Regions from separate parts of the Homo sapiens genome. Here region 1 is linked to region 2. The links are contacts of gene promoters, found by promoter capture Hi-C in blood cells and fetal thymus (Javierre and others, 2016). All regions are on one chromosome and are shown on one strand. The core of a region is centred on a gene start or on the middle of the fragment in contact, and the rest is flanking DNA. Distances in the headings are between cores, read along the strand shown.

Region 1 (5,489 bases), core at 2,794-5,293, 520 kb before region 2:
TCTATCTTTTTTGTTGCTATATCCCCAGAGCTACACACAGGGACTGACAGACAATATTTTCTAACTGAACCTACAAATCAATGTATGACCCCCACAACCTTAAACTGTGGCAGGAAGAAATAAGAGAACTGAGCCCCAGTTCTTAAGGGCAGTGATTACACTTTAGTCACATCTGTCCCTGAATTGCTTAGCTTAAAGCAGACACCAGTCACTTAGTAAGCAGTATACCGCTTGTACTCTCTTGTTTATTTTTCTTGTGTTCTCTCTTTATACTCAAGAAAGTCTTTGGGAAAGTTCTAAGCTGGTTTGGTTGACTAAGAGAAATCAAGAAAAGGAAGCATTTGTGTCCAAGTCAAGGTCAGAGAATTAAAATAGAAACAGCACACCTGGAGGCTGCCATGGGGTGGGCAGTGGTAACAGGGAAGCTGCCACGGGGTGGGCAGCTGGCAATATGCAACCAAGTCTCACTGTCTGGTACACACAAGAAAAAAATGGTCTGTCAATGGAACCCATCAGAAGAGCCACCCACAACCCCATGACTTGCCTGCTGGTGACAATGATGACATCCTCTGCAATGCAAGACATCTCCTTGATGGTCAAGTAGCACATCCGACGGAGTGTGGGCTGGGAGATAGGTGGGAAAAGCCCTATCAGCCCGGGCTCACCAAGGGCCAGAGTTGGGAGAAGATACCTCCTGTCTCCACAAAGGCAGCCCACACTGACTGGTGGGGCCAGCTCTCTTTGGCCCTCCCACCACCTTGTTACAGCTGCCACCTCTCAAGGAAAGCTGGGTTGAGGCACTTACATCATTGGACTGAAAGAGCTTGGTCATGGCAAAGAAGGCCTCGGTCGCTTCCGTGGTCCCCAGGTGCTCCCCCTGTGTTAATCAAGAAAGAAGTCTCAGCTTGGGACAGAGGGTCAGACAGCAGTTCTTTCAGGATCAGCCCACACCAGATCCCCAGACCCTAAAGAGGCTCAAGGGCAACATATGAGACTTGGATGCTGAGGGGACCCAGAGCTGAGCTGTTGTCTACAGCCACACAGAGGCTGTCCAATAGCCTAAGAGTGATCATGATTTGTCCACTCCCCTCCAATCCCCCAGCACCATTCTCCCTACCCGCAAGCTTCACCCTGTTACCTGGTTTATGAGATAAAGAATCTTGGTGAGGATGTGGGCACATTTCCGAGGGTTGATGGGAGTTTCATTAAATACACGGGCCTAAGAAGAAATGACCAAAGATGTTACCTTCTAGCCTAGTTCATTTCCCTTCAAGTATATTCAATGTCTGAGAAGTCTCAGGGTAAACTGACTTGTCTAAACAGGGCTTTCTGGGTATGCAACAAGCTTATTTTCATAAGGAAAGGGTTTGTTTTTCTTTAATCAACTACTAATTATTCTTAGACTCTCGTGTAAATATTAGTTAGGGATGTGCTAACCTATTGACTAGCAGATACTTAGCAACCATCTGCTAACTGGAAACAGAAACAATGAACGACAACAATAAAGAAAGAAGCGGCTGGACGCAGTAGCTCACACCTGTAATCCTAGCACTTTGGGAGGCCGAGGCGGGTGGATCACCTGAGGTCAGTTCGAGACCAGCCTGGCCAACATGGTGAAACCCCGTCTGTACTAAAAATACAAAACTTAGCCAGGCATGGTGGTGGGCACCTGTAATCTCAGCTACTCGGGAGGCCGAGGCAGGAGAATTGCTGGAACCCAGGAGGCGGAGGTTGCAGCAAGCCAAGATCATGCCATTGCACTCCACCCCAGGCTGACACCAGCAAGTCTCCATCTCAAAAAAAAAAAGAGAAGTGGCCGGGCGCGGTGGCTCACGCTTATAATCCCAGCACTTTGGGAGGCCGAGGCGGGAGGATCAAGAGGTCAGGATTCACACCATTCTCCTGCCTGGCCAACATCGTGAAACCTCATCTCTACTAAAAATATAAAAATCAGCCAGGCATAGTGGCGTGCGCCTGTAGTCCCGGCTACTTGGGAGGCTGAGACAGAAAAATTGCTTGAACCCAGGAGGCAGAGGTTGCAGTTGAGCCGAGATCGTGCCACTGCACTCCAGCCTGAGCAACAGAGTGAGACGCCTTCTAAAAAAAAATACATATATATATATATATAAAAAATATATATAATAAAAATAAACAAGTCATGCAAAATCTCTACCTGCATAATGGCCACAGTCTAGCTTAGGTGATAGTTTTAAACCAGTTTCCTTAGCTTTGGAATTAACTTTAAATAGAGAAATTTTTTAAATGTTTAAATAGAGAGGCCAGGCGCGGTGGCTCAAGCCTGTAATCCCAGCACTTTGGGAGGCCGAGGCGGGTGGATCACGAGGTCAGGAGATCAAGACCGTCCTGGCTAACGCGGTGAAACCCCGTCTCTACTAAAAATACAAAAAATTAGCCGGGTGTGGTGGCGGGCGTCTGTAGTCCCAGCTACTTGGGAGGCTGAGGCAGGAGAATGGCGTGAACCTGGAAGGCGGAGCTTGCAGTGAGCCGAGATCACGCCACTGCACTCCAGCCTGAGCGACAGAGCAAGACTCTGTCTCAGAAAAAAAAAAAAAAAAAAAAAAAAAAAGAAGTAAGCATAACTAACTCTCTCCAGAAACAAAGTTTTCCTGTCTTCCAGAAAACTTCCAGGCACAAGTTTTCTCCCGTGTTGCTCTTTAAAACAACACTTTGAATGTGTTGGTATTTCAGTTGCATTGGTGGTGAATATTTATGATGGAAGCTAGAGGGGAGCAAATGTCACTTGCCTCCTGGAGTACCGCACTCTTCTCAAGGTGCTGGAATGGGTTGGAGCCTCCACCTACGGTCAAGGACAATGGAGAAGGTAGGTTGTGACTCTGAACTTCAAAACTCTCCCAGACATAGGTAAAGGGAAGATGTCCCTTCCTAGGAAATCTAGTAAAGTTCAAACTCCTCAGGAATGGCAATCAAGCCTCTACAATCTGTCTAGGGATCCTACTAGTCTCCTGCAAGCAGGTGGGCTCCACTCTACCCCAAACCACTCACAATCTCCCAGCAGCCCTGGTACAGTCCTGTGCTTCTCATGGTGCCATGTCTTGTGTTCATTTATATAACTTGTAATTAACTAAGTCCCTATGTGCCAGGGACCACCATCTCGTTGTAACTAGTTCCTTCATAGCAGATGACACATTTGCAAATAATTACACGTGTGATTATCTGGTTGATGTCTGCCTCCTCCATCGTGGGTGCAACCATTCTAATATTCCTAGCTCAGGCACTGAGTGTCCCACTTGCTCTGTTGCAGTATCCAGGACACCGTACAGTACCTGGCATACAGTAACTGCTCAATATACTTTGCTGAATAAATGAATGATGGGGTCAGAGTTCCCAGTCACAGGACGCTGGCTCCGCAGGTTACACCCCAGTTTGGCCAGCACCAACGTAGCCCCAGCGAATCCCAAGAGGTTGGACGAAGAAAGTAACAAGAGAACATTCGGCATGGTCCCCTCCTTTGACAGATGGGTAAATTGAGGCCTGGGGGGGGGGGTGTTTGTCGCGCCCAAGGTCACCCAGAAAATTGCAGTCCGAGCTTACAAGAGTGAGACAGCCGCGCATGCTCGGGCTCTCCGAGGCCTGCCACTGACTAGCTGTGGACCCTGGCACAAGCCCCTGCCCCTCACTGGGCCTCAGCCTCCGGGTCAGGACAGAGAACCAGAAGGAAAGCTCGGCGGGTGGGGGTCCGGCCTCCCTCAGACCCAGGCCTGGCCCCCTCACCTGACTCCTCATCCTTCTTGTCGAATTTCTTCAACATAGTGGAGTCGGTGGGGCGCAATGCAGCAACGCAATGCTCGACGGGCGCGGCACGGAGTAGCGGTGCCACAGTGGTTCTACAGGGACCACTTCCGGGCCCCGACTGGCCACGTCGCCCAGCGCTCTGCGCAGGCGCATTCCGCGCTCTGCGCCTGCGCTCTTTCCGGTAGCCACAGCCTCGTCTAATGTTAACCTTAGCTCCGCCGGAGCGGGAGTGGGGAAAGCCAGACGGAGGGGCAAGGGCTAGGTGCAGGGGGGTACTGACTAGCATCCCAACTCTGCTCCCTACGCTTCTTTCCGTATACCAAGGGAGGAGGAGGAGCCCCTGCCTCGTTGCGTTGTGGCGTGAGTCTTTGTGGCTTTCGGGTGTGAGGTTGGTGGCACACACTGGCCCGCAGTAAACACCCAATTGATGTGACCGGTCTATGACTGTTATTGCCACCTTCCGAAGGAGCCTTGCCAGCCACTCACTCCTCGCTTTCAGATTCTTTCCCCTGCCTGATTTCCTCCTCAGCTCGAATCGCCATCTAACACTTTATTTTTACTTTCTGGCTTTTATTTGTTTATTTATTTCTCGTTCTGCTGCCCAGGCTGTGGTGCAGTTGTGCGATCCTGGCTCACTGCAGCCTACAGTTCCTGGGCTCAAGCGATCCTCCCACCTCAGCCTCCCGAGTAGAGCTGGGCGCACCACCCCCGACTAATTTTTTAATTTTTGTAGAGACGAGGTCTCACTATGATGTTGCCCAGTCTGGTCTTGAACTCGTGGCCTCAAGCGATCCTCCTTTCTCGACCTTCCAAAGTGCTGGGATTACAGCGGTGAGCCACTGCACCCGGCCACTTTCTTGCTCTTTTGTTTTTTTTTTTGTTATTTGCTTGTTTGTTTGTCTTTTATTCACTGCAGTGGATAATGTTGGCACATAGTAGTTGCTCAGTGAGTTCTCGTTGAATGAATGCGTGCAATTGCATTTTTAATTTATATCTGCCGGGCCCTATCTCGTCTGCTCCTGATGCAAATTGCCTTGTACATTATCAACCTTAAGAGATCTAACTAAACAGCATAGAACTTCTACGTTATTTTGTAAATACTTTGGATATTTATGGAGTGCCAACTAGATGCGCTGCCTACGCGGGGAGGTGGGGGGAAGGGCGTGGGAAGGAACGGAAAGGGGAAAATGACACATCACCCAGGGTTTATCTTCCTGGGGACCTATGCAGGACACCCTGAGGCTAAGGTAAGCACAGTGCATGCCAGTGAGCCAGATTGCATTGGCAATGGCAAAGTCGTGATGGCCAAGCGCTGCGACACGGCCCCAGCTTGCCTGGGGAGGGGAAGCCCGCAGGCCTGTGGGCAGGAGAAGGAGTGGGCTGTGGAGAGGAGAGGCAGGAGGCTGAGGCAGAGGCCCCAGGTGAAAAGGGTGACCGCAAAGCTGGAGGAAGGGAGATGTCAGAGGGGCCAGCCCTTAGGGTCTGGCTTTGCAGAGGCTAGGGCCAAGGACAACAGATCTTGTGACATGCAAAATTGTCAAGAGTCAGAAAGATGTTCAAAATGTCTGATCGGTAACCCCACCCCTAATCAGGAGGAAATTGTTCAAAAGAAGAAAATGAGGCCGGGCGCAGTGTCTCAAGCCTGTAATCCCAGCACTTTGGAAGGCTGAGGCAGGTGGATCACCTGAGGTCAGGAGTTTGAGAGCAGCCTGACC
Region 2 (5,729 bases), core at 1,072-3,571:
GCAACAAGAGGGAAACTCCGTCTCAAAATATAAATAAAATAAAATAAATGCCACTAGAGCAAAAGGAGAAACAAGTTGAGTGTTGAAGGTTACTCTTTAAAAGATGTGATTAATTAGAAACTGTAATATTATCTTCTACACTCTCTGAAGAGCAAACCATACAAATGCTGTTGTTAAAATTAACAAAGCCTTAAAGTTAGCCAGAAGAACACCATCCTTTGGGTTACTACTGATTCACCAGCAGAGATGAGAAATAACTCTTTCCAAAAAGCCTCAAGTTCTACCGCCAAATTATTCCACAACAGAATTTCTGGCCAAGATCATTCACCTTTTAAAAATTCCTTGAGGACAGGAACCACGCCTATCTCCCTGAGTCAATGTCCCACAATGCCTGATACATTGCTGATACTCAATGGATACTCAAAATACTTAATGAATGAATAAAAAGGTGCCTATCATTACTCTAAACTCAAACATTATATAAAGCCACAGTACTTATTACTCACTTAAATATTTTAGGCTAGGTAGCAAAGTTAAAAAAAAAAAAGACAAATATGAATACAACAGGATTGTGAACGCTAAGCTTTAACTTAGCCGGTCCCTTCTTCAGAAGAAGTACTCCTAACTCACCTTCCAGTCCTTAAACTCAAATCTGAACAAACCTTCCCAAGTTTGAAGAGAGAAACACACTAAGAGGAGACTTTATTCATCCATGGATGAGAAATCATGTGCTTCATCAGCTGCTTAAGTCACAAGAAAGAGACAAGAGTCCGTTCTTTAGGAAACCAAAGATGCAGTATTTTGAATAGGGAAGAACCAGCCGGCTGGACAGCCATCAACTAAGGTTGTAAGAAAGGTTCACTAGGCAGGTTTGCCAGGCCTACCTGCAAAATTTTTCAAACCTCAGTTAAGTACCCTGCCGGTATTCAAGAGCTCCTAATTCGGTGACACTACACCACAATATGTGTGATAAGTCGCAAACGGCATTTCTTATGGCTTTAAGGGAGAACTGATGCTACCAGAAAGACTTTCAAATGACATCAATAGAAAGAAAGGAGGTGGTGGGAGGCACTGAGGTACAGATACCAGGTAGCAAAAGATAAACCAGCAAGCTTCAGGGGTACGTGAAAGCAGTACAACCTAGAAATTTAATACAGTGCTCTGGAGTCTGACTGCCTGGGCTTGCATCTCTGCTTCGTAACTTATTAGCTGTGTGACCTTGGCCAAATGGCTTAGCCTCTCTGTTCAACTTCCCACTGTGTTAAGTGGGCACAACAGTGGTACTTCAGAGGGTTGTTCAAAGAACTAAACATAATGATCTGTTAAAAGGTCTTGCCACGCTGCCTAGCATACAATAAACGCTCAAATATTTGCTGTCAATATTCTCAATATTCCCCTTATGACCCCATTAGGTATCAAGCCTAAAATGAATGCAGAAAGAGGCCCCAAACACGGTCGGAATGGAAACACAACTCTACATCCAACTACCATCTTTCCTCGATTAAGTTGAAAAACTTCTCTCAGGATTTACCGTAACATGCCTAGGACAAAAAGCTCCCTGTCTCCCAGCGCCAGAGGCGCCTCAATGTACACAAGTGTCGAGGCGAGCCCAGCGCACGTGACCTGACTCACTGCCTTGACTCAGTTGCCGTCAGGGAACTCCCACTAACAGGGTCAGGCTGTTCAACTGAAGAACCGGATGGGAACGCGGCTCGGCCCCCAGCGCCTGTGACCCATGCCCGCCGGGTGGGCACGGCGGCGGGCGGCGTGGGCTCTGACACCCTCCTGCTCGCCGCGCTAAGGAACTCCACTGGCCAGCGCGTCCTGCCGCGGCGCAGGGCCGCCCAAGTCAAGGAACCCTCTCGGGTCTCTGAGATCCAGGCCAACAGTAAACAGAGCGTCCGAGACGGGTGGCCGGGGCGGGCAACCCGGCCAGAGGTCACGCCCGACGACCTCCGACCTCTCCAAGCCGGGTGGGGTCTTGGCCTGCTCCGGGGGCCTGAGCGATGCCGGGTGTGCCCGCGTGGCCAGGGCTGGGACTGGAGCCTGCCCAGGAGGACAGGGAGGACGCGAGGCCCTGGCGACCGAGGGGCTGAGGGGGGGGATGGGGCCAGGCCGCCGGCCGGGCTGGGCCCGCTGCTTACCGCGGCCGCTGCGCTGGGGGCTCCGGGCCGGGCGCGTCGCGAGGGCTCCCGCCGAGGAGGAGACTAAACGGAGGACAGAAGCGAGAAGGTCCAAGTTCTGGTTCCAGGGAACTCTCCCGAGCTCTCCAAGCCGCCAACTCCGCCGCTGCCGCCGCCTCAGGCTTTATGGCCAAGACTCCAGGCCCGCTCCCACTTCCGCCACCGCCGCCGCCCCGAGCGGAAGTACCTGTCACGAGACGCTCGACGCCAGGGTGCGGGGGAGGAGCCCCGCCTCAACCTTGCGTCACGTTCCGGCTGCCTCGGGACTGAGCCTGGATCTCGTGCTACAAACATGTCTGCCCCCAAATGGTTGTCCCCATCTTTGAGGCTCATACAAGGAGCAGGACGGCGCCATGTTGGACCCACAGACAGATTCCCTCAGCCATCCCTCCTTACTCCAGAATAAATAATGCCACCGAAGAGGGGACAAGGGGTAAACTGGCCATTCCAGTTGTGTCCTTCTTCGAAAGGCATCATTTATCCTTACTTTAATTACTTAACCAAAAATTATTATCACCATTTTACAAATAAGGAACTGAGACTCAGTATATCATGTCACTTGGTCTAGCTCAACACAGAAACTGGTGGAGCGAGGTTTTGAACCAAGATCTGTCTGATGCCAATATGTGTTATCGTTCTAGTAGACTGCAAATGACTACAGCAATTGTGTGGCTCGGTGATAGAGACAGGAGAAATAGGCACTTTGTCTGGCAGAGGAGACAGCCCAAGAAAATGGAAAATGAGCTAAAGCCTCTCTGAACTTAGTATTAGAGAAGATGTGATAAAGATGGACCGGGTAGAACTCTTCTTGTAAGCACAGAGCAGCCTCCCAAGCACCAGCCCCATCCGAACACATCAGGATCCACTCAGAATTTTTGCCTCCATCTTCAACAATGCCCTCTCATAGTCTTTTCTTATTTTGGTTCATGCAAGCTCCATTCTTTCAATTGTTCCATCCAAAAACCTTGCAATTGTTACAGTAAGTAGTCAGACCTGAGCAGGGCAGGAGAGGGGCCACTCCCCGACCAGCAATGTGAGGCAACCATGACGTGGTTGTCAGGTTAAGCTGTCTCTCTAAAATAATAATTGGTTGCAGCCAGACCAGAGAAAGGCAGTCTCCCAATAGATAAAAACACCTAAAACTGGTGATCAGCAGCTTCCCGATAAGATCTCAGGAGTTGAGGGGTCTGGGGAAAAAAAAAATCTCAAAAGCTAGGCAAGCAGTCTCAACCCTGAGATGGTACAATGTCTGGGGTTTCCCCTACTTTTTCAACCAAAATTGGCTCTTTCCCCAAAACCCTCACCACCTATTCTCCTGTTTTCTCTATGTGTATTCTGAAATGGCCTTGCACACTGCAGAACCATCCGCCTCTGGGGTAAGTCCACTCTTTCTCTGCTTTCACTTTGCATGTGCCCAGGAGTTCAAGACCAGCTTGGGCAACATAACAAGACTGTCTCTTCCAAAAGATAAACAAAAAAGAAAAGAGAAGGCACACATCTACATCAGACCTCTGCAGTTGTACTTCTCTCTACCTGGAAAGCTCTTCCTCCAGGTATCTGCTTGGCCACTCCCTCACTTTCCTCTGGTCTTGACTTTAAAGTAACCTTTTCAGTGAAATAGCCTTCCCTATTTAAAACTGAAGTCCCTCTCCCTGTCACCACAATACAAACACAAAAATTGACATCTCCCTACTGCTTTTCTCCTCTGTTTTTTCTTTTTTATTTTCTTTTTCTTTTTTTTTTTTTTGAGAAAAGTTCTTGCTCTGTTGCCCATGCTGGAGTGCAGTGGCATAATCAGGGCTTACTGCAGCCTTGAACTTCTGGGCTCAAGTGATCCTCCTGTCTCAGCCTCCTGAGTAGCTGAGACCACAGGCGTGCACCACTATGGCTGGCTAATTTTTTTTTTTTTTTTGTAAAGAGAAGTTTTCACTATGTTACCCAGGCAGTCTTGAACTCCTGGTGTCAAGTAATGGTGTCAAGTAATCCTCCCGACTCAGCCTCCCAAAGTTTTTCCTCTTATACTACTCACTTATTTGCATATTGTCTGTCTTCCCCACTAGAATGGCAGCTCCACAAGGCAGCTATTTTTGTCTGTCTCATTCACTGCGATATCCCTGATTCTTGAAACAGTGTTGGGGTACAGTAGGTGCTCAATGTGTACAATTTGCAGAGTATTCAGGGGAATGAAAACTGAAAATAGTTTCAAAGGCCAAGAGTTATGATAATTCCACCCCGTTAGGCAGCCAATCAAAATGCTAGGTTTGAAGGTAAAGTAGCAACTGGGAATGCAGTAGTCCTCATCCCCAGGTTTGGCAGGGCTGACTGCAGGATTTGAGCATCTGAGTCCTAGAACCAATCCACCACAAATAGCAAGGGACAATTATACCAGAAAAGGCAGAGCACAAAAATAAAATGGGACATGTGGGCCCCAGCCTTCTAAGAAGCCTTCTGAGAAGGCTATTCAGATGCAAACATGGACTATTTCCTATGGGAAAGAAAGGACAACTTAGAAGAAACCCATGAGCCAAGAGGATAGAGCCAGGAGCTGCAGATAATCATTCCCAAGGAGCAGGAGGGGACTCGAATCAAGGAACTGGCATCACGTGCCTCGCTGATTTCAGAATTACTATGACCCAGTGGCAGCTGTCGCTCCTGTTTTTTCCCCTTTTGAACAAAAGTGTCTACTATGCTTATCTTCTTCTTGCCAACTCTGTATGCTGGGTCCGTGGACAGCAGATAACATCTCTAGCTCACAGGCCTTCAGAGGAACAGTGCTCAGAGCCGTTCTTAAGGAATTATATCTGAGGAACCTCATCCACATCTGGACCCAATTTACATGGCAAGATCCATTATGAGCCAGTGATGTATTGGGATTGAGACTTTTAGGGTTCTTGGGGGAGTTAAGTAGAGCAGGGCCTCCAGTAACATCATTTCAATTATAACATTGATGAGAAAAAATTGATTCCTGGCTGGGGCCCCTGTCTGTGTAGTTTACACTCTTTCCCCATGTCTGAGTTTTCCTTGGTTCCTCTGGTTTCCTCCCACATCCCAAAGATGTGCCCTTTAGGTGAATTGGCTTGTCTGAATTGTCCCAGTCTCTGTGTGTGTGTGTGTGTGTGTGTGTGCACGTGCGCACACGTGTACACAATGGGCTGGCATCCTGTGCAGGGTTGGTTCCTGTCCTGAGCTGCCAGGATAGACTGGCCACCTGTGACCCTGAGATGGAATAATTGGATAAATAATTATCTTGCTCATTTTCATTAATCTGTCTTAAATATATATATAGTTCACATTTACTTTAATATTTAATATTAGAAGTGTTTTGGTCTTTACCAGCCTGACCAACATGGTGAAACCCCGTCTCTACTAAAAATACAAAAATTAGCCGGGCGCTGTGGCACGTGCCTGAAATCCCAGCCCAAATCCAAGGGACATCTTGGCTTTAGCACAACCTACTCTCTTGGGAACTAATCAATTCCTGTGAGAACTCATCCAGCCTCACCAGAGCCAGAACTCACTCACTCACTCACTACCTAGAATGGCACC

Evidence for each region. Contacts are between HindIII fragments. The CHiCAGO score rates a contact against its expected background, and 5 or more counts as called.
Region 1: a fragment that was not itself captured here is called in contact with the fragment with the promoter of RAB7A in region 2 in 1 of 17 cell types (activated CD4 T cells); the score reaches 5.9 in activated CD4 T cells.

Annotation. Positions count from the first base shown.
Region 1 is chr3:129,248,011-129,253,499 of GRCh38, reverse strand. COPG1 (coat protein complex I subunit gamma 1) reads right to left here and starts at 3,894. Exons shown (of 24, transcript NM_016128.4): 1 at 3,754-3,894; 2 at 2,766-2,818; 3 at 1,139-1,219; 4 at 806-877; 5 at 545-624. The coding sequence starts at 3,790. The HindIII fragment of the contact is 5,392 bases long and covers 1,348-5,489 here.
Region 2 is chr3:128,722,775-128,728,503 of GRCh38, reverse strand. It overlaps RAB7A (RAB7A, member RAS oncogene family), which reads right to left and starts at 2,321. Exons shown (of 6, transcript NM_004637.6): 1 at 2,145-2,321. RefSeq lists a silencer at 1,898-2,187 and enhancers at 1,454-2,438, 2,468-2,597. The HindIII fragment of the contact is 8,952 bases long and covers 1,115-5,729 here.